Linked DNA regions of Homo sapiens: regions 2, 3 and 4 are each linked to region 1. The links are contacts of gene promoters, found by promoter capture Hi-C in human tissues and cell types (Jung and others, 2019). All regions are on one chromosome and are shown on one strand. The core of a region is centred on a gene start or on the middle of the fragment in contact, and the rest is flanking DNA. Distances in the headings are between cores, read along the strand shown.

Region 1 (2,700 bases), core at 31-2,530:
TGCAAAGCCGAGGTCTCCAGCGCCCGGCCTCGGCGGATCCAAAAAGACGGGAGAGAAAAGGCCCGCGCAGACGCTGCAACGAACGCCCCGGAAACACGCCGCGAGCAGGGGCCAGGCCCAGGCCGCCGCCGCTGCGCTCACCCCCAGCTTAATTCCCCGGGCGGCCATTAGGCAGAGCCAAGCCCCCGACCTTCTCCTCGCCTCGCGAGGGATCACAGGCTGCGTCAACGCGCTGGGACACCGCGGGTCACCCGAGGCGGTGCGGGGGCCCGGGAGGGGCCGCGGGCCCCCGAACAAAGCTGGCCGGGCGGCGGGGTCCCCAACCCGCGTCCAGCGGTAGGTGGGCTGCGGTCGCCTTCCCCGCCGCCGCCGGCCTCAGCGTCCTGGCGCAGAGACCCTGGGGGGCGGCGCGGCGGCGGAGGCACCGTGGACTCCCTCCCGCCCCGGCCTCCGAGCCGTCCTCGAGCCGGCCGCGGCCTCGGCGCCCTTCGCGGGCAGCTCCCCGACTCCGAGGAGAGGAGCCAAGTTTACTTCGCCCACAACTCTCTCGGCGGCCGCGCGCGCTCCGGCGAAGTACCCGGGGCCCCGCGGCCGGCCTGGCGCGGGGCGGACGCTTGCCCGCAGGAAGCAGGGAACTTTCTCCCGCTCCCGGACGCGCGCATCCGCTCCCGCCGCACGCGCTTCCCCAGCCCGGACGGGCAGCCCCAGACCCCCCGGCCACCCCGCAGCCCCGGCCCTCACCGTGCTCGGGAGCCCCGTCAGGCGGCAGCAGCTCCTCGTCCGACTTGAGGTGCTGGGGCTTGGCCTGCTTGCGCCGAGACATGCTGCTAGCGGCGCTCGGGCCCCGCGCGGGGCAGCGGCATCAGCGGGGCGGCCGGCGGGGACGGCGCGGGGCGGCCTGGCGGGCGCGCGGCGCGGGGCGCGGGGCGGCGGCGGCTGCGCGGGCCGCGCATGGGGCTGAGCAATTAGGCTGGTGAATAATGCATGGCCATTAGCGGAGGGCCGCGCCGATTGGCCGGGCTCCAGCGGACTCCGGCGGCCTATGCAAATGAGGCCGCGCTCGCAATTAGCGGCCGCGCCGACGAGGAGGGGGCCGCGGCGCCTCGGGACCGGGGCGCGCGCTGCCCGGCGCCGCCTCACATCGCGGGCTCCGGCGCCGCGCTCCTCGGCCGCCCCGGGTGCGGCTGTGGCGGGGCCCGGGTGCGGCGCGGGCCGCGGTGGCCGTCCCTCCGCAGGGCGCAGGCAGCAAACTTTGGCGGCGTCCGCGCGGCGCCGTCTCCGCCGGCGCGCCGGGCTCGCCCCTTTATAGAGTGTCTGCGCCGCCGCCCGCGCCCCCCCCGCCGCCGCCGCCGGGCGGCCCCTCCCGGAGCGAGCGGCCGCGGGCAGGGCTCCGACCCGGCGCCTTTGTCTCGCCCGGGCCGCTCGGGCGCCGCGCCTCCTGTTCCGGGCGCGCGGGGTCGGCCGGCCGCCTTCGCTGCTCCGCCGCGGCTCTCAGCGCCGCTCAGCGCGGCGGGCCCGCCCGGGCTCAGGTGCCCCCCGCTCTCCGGACCTTCTCGCCCGGCCCCGCGTCCCCTCCGCGGGCTTCCCCCGGCGGCCGGCCGGGCTCGGAGGCTCGCGGCCGGAGCGGAGCGGAGTGCGCACGCCGGGGTGGCAGGACTTCGGCAAGACCAACTTTCCGGTTCGGAAGCGGCGCGGGCCGCGCGGCTCCTCCCCTCCTCTCCCTCCCCTGCGTTCCCCCTCCCTTCCACTCCCCCCTCTCCCCGCCCCCCAACCCGCGGGCCCCACCGACTCCGGAGCGCCCGCCCCGCCCGCTGCTGCCACCGGGCCGCCTCGCCCCCGCGCCAGCCCGCCTGGGCCTCTGCGCCGCCGGCGGCTTCTTAAATACAGGAAAGGGAGGGGACCGCAGGGCCCCGGTGTTCCCCACCCTAGTCCCCCTTCACCACGGGCCACCGGGCGCCAGCGGAGTGGGCAGCGAGCGCGACCGAAAGTTCCAACTCCACCAAACTCCCGCGCGCGGCCCACCCTTTCCCGGGATTTCGGGGATGACACGGGGGCCAGGTGAGGGGGCTGCGCACTTCTGGATCGGCCCCACACACTCGGCCCCTGGCGCGGCGCGCTCCCCGCACACGCGCCCGCCCCCTCCCCGCGGTCACACGCACGCGCCCTCGCCCTCGCCCCGCGCGCACAGGCGCGTACTCCCACCCGCGGCCGTGCACCCGCCGCGCTCCTTCCCGCGCGTGTCCTCTCTCCCCGAGCGGCCGCCAGGATGTGCCCCCGGCCCCGTCGTCGCCGCGCCCGCGCCCCTCGCCCCAGTACGTCTTTTTTCGTTTCCTAAATTTCTTATTTTTGTCCTTGCAAGTGGTCCTGTCTGGTGTGAACCGTCAGCACAGATGGCCTCCTGGAGCTTCCCCGAGTCGTTCGCTGGGGGAAGCGGGCGGTGAGCGGCCAGCCCGGGCGCTCCGCAGGCCGCGAGCTCCCGGCAGGGCTGGTGGCGGGGGTCCGCCTGGGGGAGGAATCCCCGCCTGCTCCATCGGACCCGGCCTGGCGCGGCTCGCGGCGCTCGGCGGGCTCCCTTCCATTCTAGAATCTTCCCGCTTGCTTCCCAGCCCGCGTTCTTCCGCCTGCCTTTAATTGTGTAAGTTTGACGAAGTCAGAGCTTTGGGTTCCAGGAAAAGCGCAGGAGGGTCATAGAGGAAGGGA
Region 2 (2,700 bases), core at 33-2,532, 170 kb after region 1:
CTCAGCCTCCCAAGCAGTTGAGACTACAGGCCTGCACCACCAGGCCTGGCTAATTTTTGTATTTTTTGTAGAGGCGGAGTCTTGCTATGTTGCCCAGGCTGGTCTTGAACTCTTGGGCTCAAATGATCCTCCCGCCTTGGCCTCCCAAAGTGCTGGGATTGCAGGTAGGAGCCACCACATCTGGCCAGGACAATTTTTGAAAGCATCTGACTCAACTCTGGCCAATAAGTGTGTGAATATGCATGCACATGTGTGTGTGTGCATGTAGTGTCTGGGCCTGTGTATGTGTGAATGTGCACATATGTGTGCACCTGTGTGTGTGCATGCATGTGGTGTGTGTGAATGTGCACGTATGTGTGCATGTGTGTGTGCATGCGTGTGGTGTGTGCATGTGTGTGCATGTGTGTGGTGTGTGCATGTGTGTGTGCATGCGTGTGGTGTGTGTGCGTGCATGCATGTGGTGTGTGCGTGTGTGCGTGCATGTGTGTGTGCGTGCATGCGTGTGGTGTGTGCATGTGTGTTTGCGTGTGGTGTGTGCATGTGTGTGCATGCATGTGGTGTGTGCATGTGTGTGTGCATGCATGTGGTGTGAATGTGCACGTATGTGTGCATGTGTGTGCATGCGTGTGGTGTGTGCATGTGTGTGTGCATGCGTGTGGTGTGTGCATACGTGTGGTGTGTGCATGTGTGTGTGCATGTGTGTGGTGAGTGCATACGTGTGGTGTGTGCATGTTTGTGTGCATGCATGTGGTGTGTGCATGTGTGTGCGTGCATGTGTGTGGTGTGTGCATGTGTGTGGTGTGTGCATGTGCGCTACTGGGTTGGGTTGATTTAGCTGCATATTATCTACCTTTGTGTTGTTAGTTATTGAGAAAATAATTTCATCTCAGAAGTAAGAGCTTTACAGGAAGTCACACTGACAAGCTGATGAATATTGAGGTACCTTATAAATAGCCCCACTGCCATCACAAGAAGGGGGTATGCTATGCATCGTTGTGATTTGTGTGATATTCCGAGTCCTGGGAGATTGGGTAAGGCTCAGGATCTTAGGTGCAGTGTGGGGTCCTCTGAGTGGGGTCCTCTGTGGGCTGTCTCAGCTCCTGTTTGTGAAGTGGTGTGAGATCCTTAAAAGCGAGTTTCTGCTGATGTGACAGTGATGGCCATCAGGATTGCTGTCTGCCGTAGTTACTCTCGGGGAGTTTGTCTCTCCGTAATGACCACTTCTTCATGCCCACATTCTCATACTGGGAACAGCTGAGGAAACCTGAAGCAAAGTAAGACTAACCACTACAAATCCTGTTGGTAGTGAGCCCTTTTGGGTGGATAATTCCAAAGACTCTATTCTCCAAATAGCCTTTCCATTGGAGTTTGCAGATTTGAGTGATAGACAATGGAGAATTTATTTTTATTTTTTAGTTCAAATCTTCATTGCACCAAATAGCTATCAGATGGCTCTCTGTGGAAGATGGGATTAAAATGCAGGTCCTTGTTCAAGCAAGAGGAATAATCTCATTTAAATGGTTAAAGAATAAGCACAGCATGAATGCTGTTTCATCATTGTTAAGCCCAGCTTTGTCCTCATTACTGAAGAGAAGACACCTTAATTTTTGCTGTGAGAAGCCAAAGAATCAAGTGGTTGGTCAAATTAAGAAGAGGCCATCCATCCATCTATCCATCCATCTGTGCAACTGCTGGGGACTGAAGCAGCACGGCCGGGTACTGGTTACCAAAAGCAAACTTAATTGCCAATTATGGGATCACAGACACCTGAAAACCCTGGCGCCGGGAAGTTCACTGAGAAACACCTACCTCGGGTGTTTTAGTGAAGGAAACACTTACCTTGGGTGTTTTAGTGAATTTAAGGACTATAATAAAATTGAGGCAAAGGACAAATATTCTTTTGCACGTATGTGAAATCTCTAAGTGGTCTAAGGAATTAGAGTGAGCTGCAGGTGCTGTGTGTGTGTGTGTGTGTGTGTAAGGATCCTTATGAGGACAGTTAGGACTGTTCTAAAAGCTTTGCAGGGCATTTTTCCTGTTCTTTTTTTAGTGACTTGTTAGGAAGGGGCCCTGGTGGAGGCTCAGGGCCGGCCATTCAGCCCCCAGCTCAACCCATGCTTTCCTTCCTTATCTCTACAGAGGAATTCATCCATGCTCTGAGCCACAGGCCTTCCATGTAACGAAGGCCACACGTTTGCATAACACAAACACATGTCTTTATGCATCTATGTAAAATGCGCACTACCAACAATTGTTATGGGGGTAATTCTGCTCTATGAAGTTGTAGCCAACACTGAAATAGTGAATCTGGAGCCATTGCTCCTAGGGGAAATACAAGTTCAGGTTCCTGAGAGCCTCCAGTCACAACAGTTTCATCAGCCAGTCAATATATAATTTTGTTTAGTGTGTGTTTTTGTTTGAAGATGCTTTATTTAGTATCTACTGTTGATTCATTAGCATTGAACTCAGGGCCAGCAGCACTGTAGCTTGTGCTGAACGAAGCTTCTCTACATGCGTGTTTTCTCTACACCAGGCAGTGCTCCAGCACCGCACTTGGGGATGTTTTAAACAGTGAAGTCTGCAACAGCACTAAACAGATGGGGAAAGGACACTTGTTTGGAGTCTGACAGCTGAGAGAAGGCTGTGTGTCACCCTGCATGGCCTCAGCTGGGAGCGAGAGCATTGGTGACTCATTTTCTG
Region 3 (2,700 bases), core at 125-2,624, 230 kb before region 1:
GGATTGGATGTGTTCATTACACTTCGAGTCTCTTTTCCGGTATAAATGACAACACCTATTACAGTACCTGCAAAAACATGAAAGTGGTCCTTGTAGAAATACTTTAAAGATGAGTAAAAGATAACACTTTCTAATTAATTGTTTTGATGGAAAGTATTATCACACTATTTGATTTTATATAAATTTATCCAACAGTGTATTTAATTTGGCTAATTCAAGAAAATCTAATCTCAACTTTAAAAATGGACTTTGAAAAAGTCAAATGATTTGTTAAGCAATACAAATGTACCCACATATAACATTAGGAAACGTACTAATATTCTTTTCACTGACAATAGAGATAATGACAATGGCCTTTCACTACTGTCTACTAAAATGGTGGTTCTATCACTGAAGGTCAATTAAGAGGCTATATCCTTAACTAATCAAACTTGTCCTTTGACCTTCAAATAAAGATGGTACCAGATGAACCACTTTCTTTTAGTGTATTTCCACTGTAAAGATCAAAGTATTACTAAATATCAGTGACAGCCTTTGCTAATATTTCAAAATGTGTACAATTAAAATAATAGAAATATTATAAAAAACGGTATTTGACTTTGCATTTAGAAGCTATTACTCTCTTTTACACGTCAAAAAGATATAATAATTTTTAAATTTAAGAGAAAAGAATAATAAAATATCCTTGGTATGACCGATAGATTTCAAAGGCTAAAGGGCACTTATCTCTAGAATGTCAGTATTAAAAACCATGGAAATCTCTTTCTGAAACTACAGCCATATATAATTTATATTCCTAATTTTCATCCTTAATTTTTTGTAAATTTTGAAGGTGAGAAACACAATTAAGGTGAGAAAGTATATACACATAATGTGCAATTACCAACCATTACAGAATTAACTATAATAATTATATGAAAACTCTGATGTCACATTAACTTAACATGTAAAATGCAGAGCATCATAAGACAGGCTCTTTGAAGTAAAGATGATTGATATGAACTCCCGGCTTTTCGTGAACCTTGATATGTTACATATTATACATATCACATGGCTTACACCTTCCTCTCTAGAAAATCTAGGAAGGTGGAAGATGTGAAGTATTCCCCAGCAGGGATATGTGTGGAGATTATATATATTTCTCTTTTAATTGAGTGTCACTGAGAAGTGTGAGGCTTCAGTTTGTAAAAGTTCATGAAAGGCAAGGCCAGCTCACACTTAGAATATAAGCTCCCCGATGCACAAATGCCGTCTTTATTACTATTATCCACATAAACTTCTGAGATTAGATGACTATACTTACTACGCAGAGAAATATTAAATATATAATACAATACTATAAAAAGCTTTCAAAAGGAGATCATAGAATTACTTCACATCAGTGAAGCTAAATATTAAATATCATCTGATCAGTATTTTCTGTTTTGCCAATCTAGTTTAAATCAAAATATAAACATCCCACTAATGTTAAATTATCACAATGATGTAAGAAGGCAAACTGCAAAATTAACTTATTTTTTAACATTAGCAGAATGAGCAAATCTCAGAAAAGGCTTTGCAAGAATTAATCAAGCTAGAAACCGTTGAGCTGAAAGCAGGTTGACTGATGAGCAAAGTGGACTCTAGAGTGGCCTTACAATGCACAGTACCTCAATTCAATGTGATACATAACAAGGCATATGTTATACATTTTTAACAGAGGTCCTGGTACAATATTTGTATAATCTGTTAAAGTTTGCTAAAGGCTCTCGTAAGTATTCTCTCACTTGATTCTCATGAAAAATCAACACTTACTAGAATTAGATTAAATGAATTTTTCTGAGTGTCATGCTTTTTAATATCTAACGTAACTAGAATCAGTGCAGAAATATTTGGGACATTTTCCATTCTCTTTCACAAAGGGTATGTACTTATGAAGTACAATAGGCTAAAAGACTGAGTAAAACCTGAGTATACAAGGCAAAACAGAGGAAAGGGATTAACTGTGGATTGCGAAATGAGACATGAGAGGGCAACAAAGTATGATAAACTCATTTTGTGTCGTATAAGATAACAGGAGACTGAATGTGACAAATATAAATGTCACAAAGATTTCTCACTCAATGAAATACTTAAACAGAAGAATTCCAAAACTTTAACCCATATTTTCAGTGTAAAATCAAGATCCACCTCCCTCACAACGCGCTCCAACTGGAGAAACTTCTACATCAGAAAGACCTGAGTTCAGGACCATGTTGGTAGATTAAAACCACAACCACAACAACAAACCAGTTCTTAACAGGACCCTAAAAATGATGGTGGTCCAGTATTCATCATTAAATCAAAAATTTAACTTCATTTATCCCAAGACAACATTTTAAAAGATTTAGGAGCACTTAATCTTCAAAGCCAGTGATTACATTTGCCTGATCCATAACTGCACACTTCAAATTGACTACAGGTAAAAATTAATATTAAATATTCAGATGCTTTGGGTCCAAAAAGGGAGGCATAAAATATGACCACATTTACTCCTACACTCCACAGACCCCATGACTAGGGCCCTCGAGACTTAGCCTACTTCAAAGAGGCTGCTATGTGGATGGTCTGCAAGTCATTCTATAGTCCAACCCTATCATGTCCAACTTCTGTTCAATCACAATTTCATGTGAGTGGGATAATAATTACTCTGTTAGTTACTATGTGCCTTCCTTGCTACAG
Region 4 (2,711 bases), core at 98-2,597, 240 kb after region 1:
TACTGACTTGGGCAGGGAATGTGAGCCTCTGTGTTTAAAAGGCATCCGGATGGGTCTTATGGCCAGGGCAGCACCTCACTGGGGACCACAACCCAGCACCCTTTCCAGCACCTTAGTGTGACTACTTTCCCCAGAGCAGACAAATGTCAAGGGAAATGATTGAAGCAAACACAGTTCCAGATCCTGTGCTTTTGCCAAGAGACTACTGTGTAAGCAGGATCACCGATCTGTCAATTCCAGTTAAGAAACAGCTGCCAAGTGAAGCATGGTGTCCAAACCATAGGCAAGTTCTTTCTGTAGAAAGGGTTGCAGCAGCCTAGTAATGAGAAGGCTTTCTCAGGTGTGCAGGAGAATTTGAGTGTGGGTCACCTTAGGAAGCTCTCTTGTCCCCTCCATTGCACACACAGACCCCAGGGCCCTTTCTTCAATGAGCTGCTCATGGGCCTGGCTCAGGTGTAATTCCTGCAGACCCAGCTGTTGGACAGGACTTGAGTATAGCGTCCTGGCCACAGGGTGAAAAGCCCTGTCTCTGGGAGAAGAGAGTGCAGATACTATTTATTTCAGACCTGACGTCCTCGGAGAACAGTGCTGGCCTGGCCTCCATGTCAGAGGTGTGTTATGTCTGAGCTCAGGGCCCCACGGCAGCCCCACGCCACGTGATGCTGACTTTCGACCAGCTCCTCTTCCCCCTACCTAAGACAATTCTACTCTCTAGCGTTTCGGATCCCCCTTGCGCTCAGGGTAAGTGCAAGGCAATGCTCTTCCCAGCTCTGTGTGCACTGAGGTCACCCCACAAGACCTTGTCACTGATCACTCACTGCTGTCTCCACCTTTCCGTGGCTGGTAACCAGAAGCACTGGGATGCCTTCCTTCCAGGGCAGGATTTGACTCTGTTCTAGAGTTGGTCATTTTCTGGGGAGGCCCCCTGTCTTGAGCAGAAGCCCACAGAAAGGCCTGCCTTTCCCAGTTTATCTGACAGGCACTCCTGCTCAGTATCAGACCGTGCACTCCTGGGGGTGTGGCAAATCTGGGATCACAAATAGACCGGAGGCTCCCATGTCCATCACTCTTAGGGTGCGGGGGGATGTCCCTGAAATGCGTGGTAACAAGGTCTTACAAACTCGAGGTCAAACCCCAAATCTACCACTTTGGATACGTCAGCTGGGTTCTCTGCCTCTGGTCTGATTTTTGTGTGGGGTGGCCACAGATCTCTCAGAGTTTAGAGGAGTAAATGAGATAAGACAGCTTTGTGACTCTGAAAGCAATCTGTGCAAAGTGGTATTATTATTGTTTTGTTGTTATTGCAATTATTTTGCCCACATCCTTTTAAATAATTATTATAACTTGTGCAATTGGAAACCCCACTCTCCCTATAGCTAGGTGCATTGCCTAGGGTATCGTTTACTCTGACTTTCTTCCCTGTTTACCTTTTATCTCCAATCTCGGTCAGGTGGCGACTGGCCTAGGAGGAAGGGACGACCAGGCCTGGCTCTGTTCTGAGCTGATTCTGTGACTTTCCAAGTCATCTTATTTCCGTTGGTCTCTGTTTCCTCATTTGTTACACGAGGCTTGACTAGCATATCACTTAATATTCCTATCAGACCCAACATCCTAGCAGTTTTCAGCTCTCATGTCAGCAGTGGAGGTCAAGAGCAGAATCACACAGACCTGAGTTTACAGCCCAGATCTCCACACTCACCCGGGCAACCTCGGACGGGCTGTCTGTCTCGCAGAGGTGTGCTGGGGCCTGCGTCCTTGCAGGCCCATGGGAGCCCAGTGATGCGTTTTCAGGAATTTCATGAGCCGGTTATGAAACACTGTCACTATTAAAGATCAAATCATTTAAACATACAATTTATATATATATATATATATGTGCTATGTATGCATAACAAATTATGTGGACTTACTTATAATTAGCAATAACTTCTATTAAACACGACGGTGATAAACATGGAAACTGCTCACCTCGCACCGTTGCGGGGCATCGACCGCGCTTCACGCTCACGGGGAGGGAACGCCGCCGTGTTGTTCCCACTCCGTCTCTTCCTAACCCCGTCAGTGCTGTCTGCTTGCTACCTTGGAATCGGCCGTGACGGGGACCCCTTGGAAACTGGAAACCACCGCACATCAGGACTCAGAGCTGGGATCGAATATTTACCCACGACGGCTGCCCGGAGGCCTCGGCTTCCTTGTCTACAATGGGGCAAAATGACGGCTCACAGAGTAGGTCCGAGCTTGCCCTGGAGCCGTGCGGGCGGCCCGGCGCAGAGCAGGTGTCCACAGATATTCGCTGCTTCCCTCTGGCTTTGCTTGTGACCAGGGAGGCGAGGCCGGGCTCACACCGAGGATAAAAATGTTTCCTTGTGGCGTTCTCATTCCAGGCAGGCCCTGCTCCTCACTCCTAGAGATTCTGATTCTGTAAGCCCGGGAGTCTGCATTTGAAAACATCCCCCAGGGCCCCCAGATCACCCACATTCCCCAGAGGGTCCTGGCACCCAGGCCACAGAGCCCGGGCCACGTGTGCTGGTGCCAGCCCATTCCCAGGCGACGCGTCCACGGTGTGCACTGCGGAGGGAGCAGGGGCCCTGGAAGGCTGTGAGACCCGAGGCCACGGGCATTCATTGCTCCTCAGAAGCCGGTCCTGCGTCAGCTGCAGCATGACTGCTCAATCACCGCAGGAAATCACAGGATGCCTTGGTTCCTGAATT

The links. Contacts are between HindIII fragments. The study calls those that stand out against the background at their distance.
Region 2: a contact is called between a fragment that was not itself captured here and the fragment with the promoter of SALL3 in region 1, in 5 of the 25 tissues and cell types used here (H1 embryonic stem cells, hippocampus, liver and 2 more).
Region 3: a fragment that was not itself captured here is called in contact with the fragment with the promoter of SALL3 in region 1 in 5 of the 25 tissues and cell types used here (H1 embryonic stem cells, adrenal gland, dorsolateral prefrontal cortex and 2 more).
Region 4: a contact is called between a fragment that was not itself captured here and the fragment with the promoter of SALL3 in region 1, in 2 of the 25 tissues and cell types used here (H1 embryonic stem cells and mesendoderm cells).

The regions. Positions count from the first base shown.
Region 1 is chr18:78,978,398-78,981,097 of GRCh38, reverse strand. It overlaps SALL3 (spalt like transcription factor 3), which reads right to left and starts at 1,280. Exons shown (of 3, transcript NM_171999.4): 1 at 742-1,280. The coding sequence starts at 823. It overlaps LINC01896 (long intergenic non-protein coding RNA 1896), which reads left to right and starts at 1,407. Exons shown (of 5, transcript NR_187297.1): 1 at 1,407-2,058; 2 at 2,360-2,635. The HindIII fragment of the contact is 21,440 bases long and covers 1-2,700 here.
Region 2 is chr18:78,807,841-78,810,540 of GRCh38, reverse strand. No RefSeq gene overlaps it. Among named protein-coding and RNA genes, the nearest start is that of LINC01896, 170 kb to the left of the region's middle. RefSeq lists enhancers at 49-548, 549-1,050. The HindIII fragment of the contact is 4,117 bases long and covers 1-2,700 here.
Region 3 is chr18:79,211,329-79,214,028 of GRCh38, reverse strand. ATP9B (ATPase phospholipid transporting 9B (putative)) reads right to left here. Exons shown (of 30, transcript NM_198531.5): 11 at 1-67. Among named protein-coding and RNA genes, the nearest start is that of ATP9B, 140 kb to the right of the region's middle. The HindIII fragment of the contact is 7,641 bases long and covers 1-2,700 here.
Region 4 is chr18:78,735,500-78,738,210 of GRCh38, reverse strand. No RefSeq gene overlaps it. Among named protein-coding and RNA genes, the nearest start is that of LINC01896, 240 kb to the left of the region's middle. The HindIII fragment of the contact is 9,160 bases long and covers 1-2,711 here.